2 separate regions of the Homo sapiens genome follow, and region 1 is linked to region 2. The links are contacts of gene promoters, found by promoter capture Hi-C in human tissues and cell types (Jung and others, 2019). All regions are on one chromosome and are shown on one strand. Each heading gives the region's core, a stretch centred on a gene start or on the middle of the fragment in contact. The rest is flanking DNA. Distances are from core to core; before and after follow the strand shown.

Region 1 (4,831 bases), core at 2,104-4,603, 150 kb after region 2:
AAAGTAACACATTGAACAGCTATTTTGTATGTGAAGCTCACCAGCATGATGTAGAAAATAAGATTAAAATGCCACCCTTGGCCAGATGTGGTGGCTCATGCCTGTAATCCTGGCACTTTGGGAGGCCAACGTGGGTGGATCGCCTGAGGTCAGGAGTTCGAGATCAGCCTGGCCAACATGGTGAAATCCTGTCTCTACTAAAAATACAAATACAAAAATTAACTGGGTGTGGTAGCGGGCACCTGTAATCCCAGCTATTCAGAAGGCTGAGGCAGGAGAATCGCTTGAACCCAGGGGGCAGAGGTTGCAGTGAGCCAAGATCGTGCCACTGCACACTGGTCTGGGTGACAAAGCAAGACTCCGTCTCAAAAAAAAAAAAAAAAAAAAGCCACCCTTGCTTAGAAGGAACAAACTGTATAAAATCAAGTAGCTGTAATAAATTTTTAACGATAATATATGAAAAACATATAGATTTATATGTATTTTTTGCGACTGGTACGCTATTTTAGTTTTCTTTTTTTTTGTGGTGCCATCATGGCTCACTGCAATATCAGCCTCCCAGATTCACGCGATTCTTGTGCGTCAGCCTCCCAAGTAGCTGGGATTACAGGTGCGTGCCACCAGGCACACCTAATTTTTGTATTTTTAGTAGAGAGGGTTTTCCCCATGTTGGCCAGGCTGGTTTCTAACTCCTGATCTCAAGCGATCTGCCTGCCTTGGCCTCCCAAAGTGCTGGGATTATACAGGTGTGAGCCACCGCGCCTGGCTGTATTTTAGTTTTCTAAATTAAATACAATTGTGATAGAGCAATATAAAATTGAAATTTGATTTGAAGTTTAATTTATTGCTCTGAAATAGAAAAAATAAACCTATTATTACTGTACAAAGGATGAAAGTATAAGAATCTATTCTGGTATACAATTTTCTAAAATGCAATGGAAAATGCAGAACTGTATTTTTATGGCCATTTTCACACAAAGTTGCCAATCAAATTAAATCTACTTCCAAAATAACTATACCTTTATCCAAAACTCTAAAATCAAAAAGCTCTGAGAAGTTTTGCTGTAAGTTTGCAGCAAGCTCACTTGGCATCCAAACCTGATCTGAACTGATTTTTAAATTTCTTTTATTTAGTATATATACTTACACATTTTGCTACATAAATATTAATGTTTTTATTATGGTACACTTCCCCACATTCTGCTAGAAATATTTAAGATACAGTATATTACATTATTACTGTTCGAAACTCCAAAAGATTTCTAAATTTCAAACATATATATCCCCTAGAGTTTTAGATGAGATCGAACTTGTATTAGTTTTATAAAACCTTAAGCCCACAAACTTACCAAATTCTCTTCTTTCCAATGTTATGATTTCAGGATCATCATCATAAATACCTAATTTTAAAAGTATATAAAAATTATAAAATCAAAACTTCACCATATAAATTGCAACATAAAAATAGATTACTCGTTTTAATCATCAAAAAAATCAAACTACTATATTATATCTCAAACTTAGAGAATATGCAACATCCTAAGTGAAAAAAAAGTAAATAATACTATCAGTACATTTAGGGTGATCTAAAGATATTAGAATTCTGATATGGACTCTCATAGATGTGTATGCGGTAGTTCGTAATATTCACATAATTTTACCTCCATATAAAATTTATATTATGGTTTTAAAAATAATTACAGATTCAGGAAGGTGCAAAAATATAGACTCTTGTATACTTTTTACTCACCTTCCTCTAATGGTGACATGTTATGTAGCTATATAGCACAATATCGAAAACCAGGAAATTGAGAGTGGTACACTGTTAACTAGACTACAGACCTCATTTGATTTTCAGATTATATGGTTTTTAACACATGGTATCATGTTAGAATATCTTCTGCTAAAAAGCTTAGAGTATTTGCAGAGGCAGACACAAATATTTAGTAAATATACATTTTTTAGGCTTTGTGGGATGTATGGCTTCTATCACAACTTCTCAACTCTGCTCTTGAAGTGTGAAAGAAGTCACATATATTATGTAAACAAATTAAAGTAATTCCATTCCAATAAAACTTATTTATAAAAGCAAATGGCAAGCCAGATTTGGCCTATGAAATGCAGTCTGCTAACTCTTGATATAGACTATCAAGGTGTAGAGAATATACTTGAAAATACTATTTTGAAAAAAAATCATATTTACTAAAAGCAAATCCTCCAGATATAAATTTAAAATACTTCATTTAGTCTAATACAGAAGCATATTCAGTTCTTAGCCTGCATTTGAGGTTAATTAATGACTAGGAGAAACACTGGGTCTCTGAACACACCTTCCTCCCTTGATACCTGTGTGTTTACAATCTCTCTTCCTTAGTTCCTTTACTTTGTTTCCTCCTTCCACCTTATTTTTTCCTCCATGTTTAAGAAAAAAAACACCTTTCGTCCTTCTCATATGGAACCTTTATTGATAATGTTTCAAGGTATTGACCTTAATGTCAACCGAAGGCCAAAACACCTTAAAAATCAGTAAGGGTTCCATATGAGAAGGACGGCATTTCTATTGAAGAGATCATTACTAAACTTGAAGTTTCGCCTTTCTTGGACAATATGATGCTCTAAAATATATTGAAAGAAATTAATATTATTCAATACTAAAAAATACTGAAAGAAATATTTAGCTACCCCTAATGCAAACATATAGTCATACATCACTTACTAATGGGACACATTCTGAGAAATGTGTTGTTAGGGAATTTTGTTGTTGCAAAAACATCACAGAGTGTACTTACACAAACCTAGATAGTATAGCTTACTACACACCTAGTCTACAAATCTGTACAGCATGTTACTGCTGAATACCATAGGCAACTGTAACACAATGCTAAGTATCTTTGTATTTAAATATAGAAAAGGTACAGTAAAAATATGGTATTATAATTTCATGGGACCAATGTCCTACATACAATCCATTGTTAAGTGAAATGTCATTATGCAGTCCATGAATGCATATTTTTTATTAAATAGCAATCCTTATTTTAAAAGTATTTAACAAGATTTAACCAATACAACTTCATATCTGTACAGATCATCTCTGTATACCAACTGACATTCCTTTTAAATTTCACTCCCACAGCAAATTAAAAGGAGCTAATCAAAGTGACGCATCTTAAATATATAAGCTAAGTGGTGAAACAGAATTCACTTTTCTTTTACTCAGATAAAACACATTTCATAAGTAATATCGTATCACCTTACCAAAATCATAACGATAATAGTTCCAGCTTTCATACTGGCCACCTTGATTATCCTCAAGTCCCTTTTCTCCATATTTGTCATACTTTTTCCGTAGATCTTCATCTTTGAGTACTTCATATGCTCTATTTATTTTTAAAAAATCGCCATGTGCATTTGGGTTATTCTGTTAAAAAATATTAGATATAATACAATTATTTCAGATACACAATCCAAGTTTCTTCAAAACATATATGTAGGTTTAATTAATCTAGTAACTTCTGGGAGACCATATACCAACATAAGGAGGGGTAATACAACATGACATGAGTTACCATGGGTTGAAATGAAGTATTTTTTAAGAAACTATAATCTTCAAAAAAAAAAAAAAAAAAGTAAGAAAAGTAATGAAATAATTGACTCTTCAAAAGGTTGACAGACGTTATCAGACCATGAGTTATTCTTCCTAAAAAATGCAGCTGAAAATAATAAGCCTGTTGAAACTCTTAATTTCATAAATATTTTTTACTCCTATAACAATTATAAATCAATACATTTGTAGGTTATTTTTCTATTTGAGGTAAAATCAACTTAATTAAAAAAGGATGTGCCCCAATCTATCAGCTAATTACATAAAAGCCAGTATCAGAAAACACCCCAAAATCGATCCCAGTACTTTGGGAGACTGAGGAGGGTGGATCATTTGAGGTCAGGAGATCGAGACCAGCCTGGCCAACATGGTGAAGCCCCGTTTCTACTAAAAACACAAAAACTAGCTGGGCAGTAGTGACGCACGCCTGTAATCCCAGCTACTCAGGAGGGTGAGGCAGGGGAATTGCTTAAGCCTGTGATGCAGAAGTTGCAGGAAGCCGCTGGCGTCACTGCACTCCAGTCTGGGCAAGAGAGTGAGACCCTATCTCAAAAAAAAAAAAAAAAAAAAAAAGAAAACAATCCAAAATTGGATCGGAAATGTTTCTTCCTTGTTACTGTGCTTCATAAAATTTGTTTCTGAAGGATGCTTTCATTTAAATAATACTCGGATGGTAGAAGGTCTACTGTCTTTTATATGGAAACTTAAAAATCATTATTTGAAATTTTAAAGAAAAATTAAAAAAAAATAAAAACCTTAAATAGAATGTGGATCTTAGGAAAAGATAATCAACTAAACAATATTTAAAGAAATATTGTTTCTCTTGCTCAGCTTTATGCAATGAAAATAATCCTATTTTAAAACTTCTACCTAGAAAAGAGAAAATTATAACTATGTCTTCTTGTTAATGATGAACGCTAAATCTCACTAAGAAATAATCAAATAAATTACAAAAACACCATAAAAATTAAAATGAGTTTAGTTTTGAAAGATTTACATTAATGTGTACATAAATATTTATGACTGGCATTATATTCAGCTGCTGTGAAGTATTAATTTATAAAACTTTCTAACTCTGGTTTGTGGACTTGTGCATACACAGAAGAAAACAGTCAAAGTTAAAACATGCTATTATTAGCTATTACTTCTATTTTTAGCAAGTCATACCCTCTGAGTTTTAAAAAAATATTTTTGTTCCTGTTCTAAAACACTTGATCTTAACCTACTTTA
Region 2 (4,312 bases), core at 317-2,816:
TCTGCAGGTCATTCCATTTACAATATAAGCTGAAAGGGTAGAGTGGGGCGGGGGTGGGGGGAAGAGGGAGCTCATTAGTGGAAGAAGCAGACCAGGAGGGGATCTGTTTTCCATTTTCTCCTCCAGATTGAACTCATCTGGATGGAAAGGTTTTGATTGTTGTTATAATCATCATTATTACCTGCGTGATGTCGTTTTCCTACACTTTTTTTTTAAGTGTCGGGCAGAATTGTTGCTGAGAATAACAAATAATATCTGCCATGTTATCCGTGAGCAAAATCAGAAAAAAAAAGTCCAAGTGTATTAGAGCTGTTAGTTTCCACGTTAACCCTTAAGGAGCAAAGCTCAAGAGTTCTAATTCCACTAGGTGGGGGGGGCGGGAATAGAAGGAAAAAACCCCTTTTCCTTGCTTCTGGTGGCCTATTTGTAGTCATGAACAGCATTTCTTTGTTTCTCTCTCTCTTTTTTTTTTTTTTTAAAGGCAATCCTCCCCCCACCTCCTCCCCCGCAGTTATTGAAAATGGAGACCTCTGTAGTCACTAGCTCTGGGTTGATATGGCTCCACCGTTGCTCGCAGGGGTCTGTGTTTTCCGCTACTTGGACAAAGTGACATTGCTTAAGCCTTTCCCCCCACCAGGTCTGACTTTCTGCAGAGCCAGTGATTGCAGAGGAAAAGCTGTAGTTTGCTTAAAGGAAATACCTCCAGGAAGGAGGGTCTCGGGTGGGTTCCCAAGTGGGGAACTAGGGGGACTTTTCCGTAGGGAATTGGGGTGGGCTCTTCAGTGAGGGGCTAGGGGCTCGTTTCTGGGGCCAAAGACGGGTTCCCTAGTGTGAGGGCGCGCTCGACTCGGCGCTGTCTTGGGGTCTCGCACTCGCACGGCTTCGCACCCCACCGCCTGCGACTCCCAGGCCTTCTCTTCCCCGGGCGCCCACTCCATTCTCGGGAAGAGCAGCCGGCACTGGAGGGCAGAGACTGCCCCAGGGGCGGAGCTCCCTCTCAGGCGGGAGGTAGGAAAGTGCAGAGCCGCCCGGGCAGAGGCACAGACGTCCCTGCGGGGCTCCTCCTGAGCGTCCCTCCTGCCAGCCAGGGTCGCAGCCGCAGCGGCGGCCGCAGCTCTTAGCCCACACAGGACTTGTAAACTCTTACTGCACCCTTCTCTCCCATTAGGAGCTTTTCCTCCCTCCTTCCCCCCAACCCCTCTGTCCTCCTCACTTTGGGGAATTTAATGCTTTCTTTAGCATCTTTTTGTGTGCGTGATCTAGGGGAGGAGACACCCCAGAGCTCCAACTAGCTCTCAGCTGAATTCTACTTTTGTTTTTATGTCTTCCTCGCCTCCTCTCGTGTCCCTCTTATCTGACTGATCTGCGAAGTCTGATGCTTCTGCCAGAGGGAGAGGAATAAATAGATGTTGCTGCTTCCGAAGGCTTAGACGTTGGGAAAGAGCAGCCTGGGCGGCAGGGGCGGTGGCTGGAGCTCGGTAAAGCTCGTGGGACCCCATTGGGGGAATTTGATCCAAGGAAGCGGTGATTGCCGGGGGAGGAGAAGCTCCCAGATCCTTGTGTCCACTTGCAGCGGGGGAGGCGGAGACGGCGGAGCGGGCCTTTTGGCGTCCACTGCGCGGCTGCACCCTGCCCCATCCTGCCGGGATCATGGTCTGCGGCAGCCCGGGAGGGATGCTGCTGCTGCGGGCCGGGCTGCTTGCCCTGGCTGCTCTCTGCCTGCTCCGGGTGCCCGGGGCTCGGGCTGCAGCCTGTGAGCCCGTCCGCATCCCCCTGTGCAAGTCCCTGCCCTGGAACATGACTAAGATGCCCAACCACCTGCACCACAGCACTCAGGCCAACGCCATCCTGGCCATCGAGCAGTTCGAAGGTCTGCTGGGCACCCACTGCAGCCCCGATCTGCTCTTCTTCCTCTGTGCCATGTACGCGCCCATCTGCACCATTGACTTCCAGCACGAGCCCATCAAGCCCTGTAAGTCTGTGTGCGAGCGGGCCCGGCAGGGCTGTGAGCCCATACTCATCAAGTACCGCCACTCGTGGCCGGAGAACCTGGCCTGCGAGGAGCTGCCAGTGTACGACAGGGGCGTGTGCATCTCTCCCGAGGCCATCGTTACTGCGGACGGAGCTGGTGAGTTTTGACACGGCCCACCCTTCCCTTACCCTACAGCCTCCTCAATTCTTGGAGTCCTTGTTACTAGCCTTTACTCTCTAATTTTTTTCTCTTCGGATCACTTAATCTCTCCCATAACTGCTCCTCTATCAAAGACCCTTCTTCTTCTTTCTTCTTTTTTCAAAAACAAAAACAAAAAAACCCTCACCTTATCACCTTCCAAACTGATGCACTCTGGCACTGTGTTCCAATAGGCGATCTTTCTAAAACAATCCATGCATTCCAAACCCATCACACTTCTACTCCACAGGAATCCTTCACTTCAACTCCTTACATGTGCAAGTAGCCACATTTTGTAAAGTGATGCTCTTTTTCTTTTAAAATGTGTTTATAATCATTGGGTTTTCTTTGCTGATTCTCAGGCAATCTCAGTCATCAGGTTTCTGTATCTTTAGTGTCTTAGATGCTTGTTAAGATTGTGTGGAGGAAACAGAAAACTGAAGCCCCATTTTCTTCTAATTAAAAATGCCAAGATAATTTCAATAACCTTACTCTAACCGACAGATGTTAGGGGTATGTGTTTGCTCAAGATCCAGTTTGAGCAATTACCTTCACCTTAAATTTCCCCCTCCTTTCAATGAGATAAATTGTTCTTCCATTCCAGAATGAAACAATTGTGAAACATTGCTATGCACTGTTAATTAGCTTCTGTGGCTTGCCATAGAGCTGGCAGACTGAAATTACTGAGCTCTTTTCACATGCCCACATGCCTTCAAGTCATTTTATAAGTGGCATACAGATGAAAGGAGTTATATTTAAGGCGTGTTATCATACACTCACGTAATGTTATTTTAAATCTCACCCCTTATTCCACTCTCATGTTTTGAAAAAAAAATTGTCTTTAATACCTTATTTCATGCTCCTTTTCCGTGTGTGCACCAACCACAGTCATTTCAGTCTTTCCCTACCATAAAACTTTATTGCAGCTCTAAATTTAATGGAGTCAATCACAAGTTGTTTTCTCACTAGTGTTTAGTCTAATTATGACATTTGTAACTTTAAGACCCCAACTAAACCTACTTCATTATGGTCCATTTAATTCTAACTCAGTATTACTTCTACCAACTAACCCAACCTCAAATTTTACCCTTCATATATTTTATAAAGAAGGCAATTTTTTTTCATGAGTGGTCCTCTTTCATACCACATCCCCCACCCCCCAACAACTCTGTTCTTAGATGTGTTGACTTGGTTGCCTCCATCTGTTTATTTCTTGGGCATCAACTTTCCTTCCTCTTTCAACTTGCGCAGTCTAGGCGCATGTCCCCAGTCCATTTCCAGGTAGTAATTCTTAGTTATCGGGAAATTGATTTGGAAAAATTACCTTCTGTGCACGTTGACTCATTTAACAAAGTGAGAGAAGGAGAAGTAATTGTAAAAATAGCTGAAGGAAAAAAAATAAACAGAAGAATTTCAAGAACTTTTTAATGGTGACCTCACTTAGTTTATCACTTTTTGAATATACCTATTGTCTTCTTGATTTTAATCAAGAACCAAAAGCTAGTTGTGCAAAATCATCACAGAAATGTATTTGCTATTAATCTTTGCTAAAAGAGCATGCTTGAGGCTTCGTACTCACTAAAGTCACAGACTGCAGAGTCTGGAAGTGCTCAGTGCAGTTGCCGCTCTGGTTTGCCAGGCACTTAGAATCAGTTAAATGCAGGTGCTCCTCTCAGGCCAAGGGCTAGGAATGAGGTGGCAGTGGTTCAGGCTGAAATGCATTCCTCCCCGTAAAGCACAAAACTTGCTCTTAAACCTCCCTTAGAGGTGGACCTAGAGTGAGTGAGGTTTGGCAAGGTTAATGGCTCTCAAAAAGCCATAGTCAATATGGATAGGAAGCAGTTTCATTAAGTGTCCCTGAGTTACCAATCACTGTGGAACAAACATGGAAACAGTTGCCTCATTGAAGCACTCAAATAGGACATGCATGGAAACAATTTGTCAGTTCATGGGACCTGATTTCTAAGCTTCTTTAAAATGCCAGAGTATTTGCTTTACTGGCAGCATCCTTGCTAGAAAAATAGGTGGTAGTTGGAATCATAGTTAGTGATGGCATCCCTGCTCCCTTCCATAAGCTTCAGTGTGAACCAGAGGCTATGATGGCAAGGGGAGCTCAAAGGTGGGGGGAGGTGGAAATTGGGA

What was found. The method cuts DNA at HindIII sites, captures the fragments that hold promoters and counts their contacts. A contact is called where the count stands out against the background at its distance.
Region 1: a fragment that was not itself captured here is called in contact with the fragment with the promoter of FRZB in region 2 in 1 of the 25 tissues and cell types used here (H1 embryonic stem cells).

What each region holds. Positions count from the first base shown.
Region 1 is chr2:182,718,594-182,723,424 of GRCh38, reverse strand. DNAJC10 (DnaJ heat shock protein family (Hsp40) member C10) reads right to left here. Exons shown (of 24, transcript NM_018981.4): 4 at 3,256-3,418; 5 at 1,350-1,400. Among named protein-coding and RNA genes, the nearest start is that of DNAJC10, 4.8 kb to the right of the region's middle. The HindIII fragment of the contact is 5,084 bases long and covers 812-4,831 here.
Region 2 is chr2:182,863,891-182,868,202 of GRCh38, reverse strand. FRZB (frizzled related protein) reads left to right here and starts at 1,566. Exons shown (of 6, transcript NM_001463.4): 1 at 1,566-2,128. The coding sequence starts at 1,651. RefSeq lists an enhancer at 1,435-2,403. The HindIII fragment of the contact is 7,330 bases long and covers 1-4,312 here.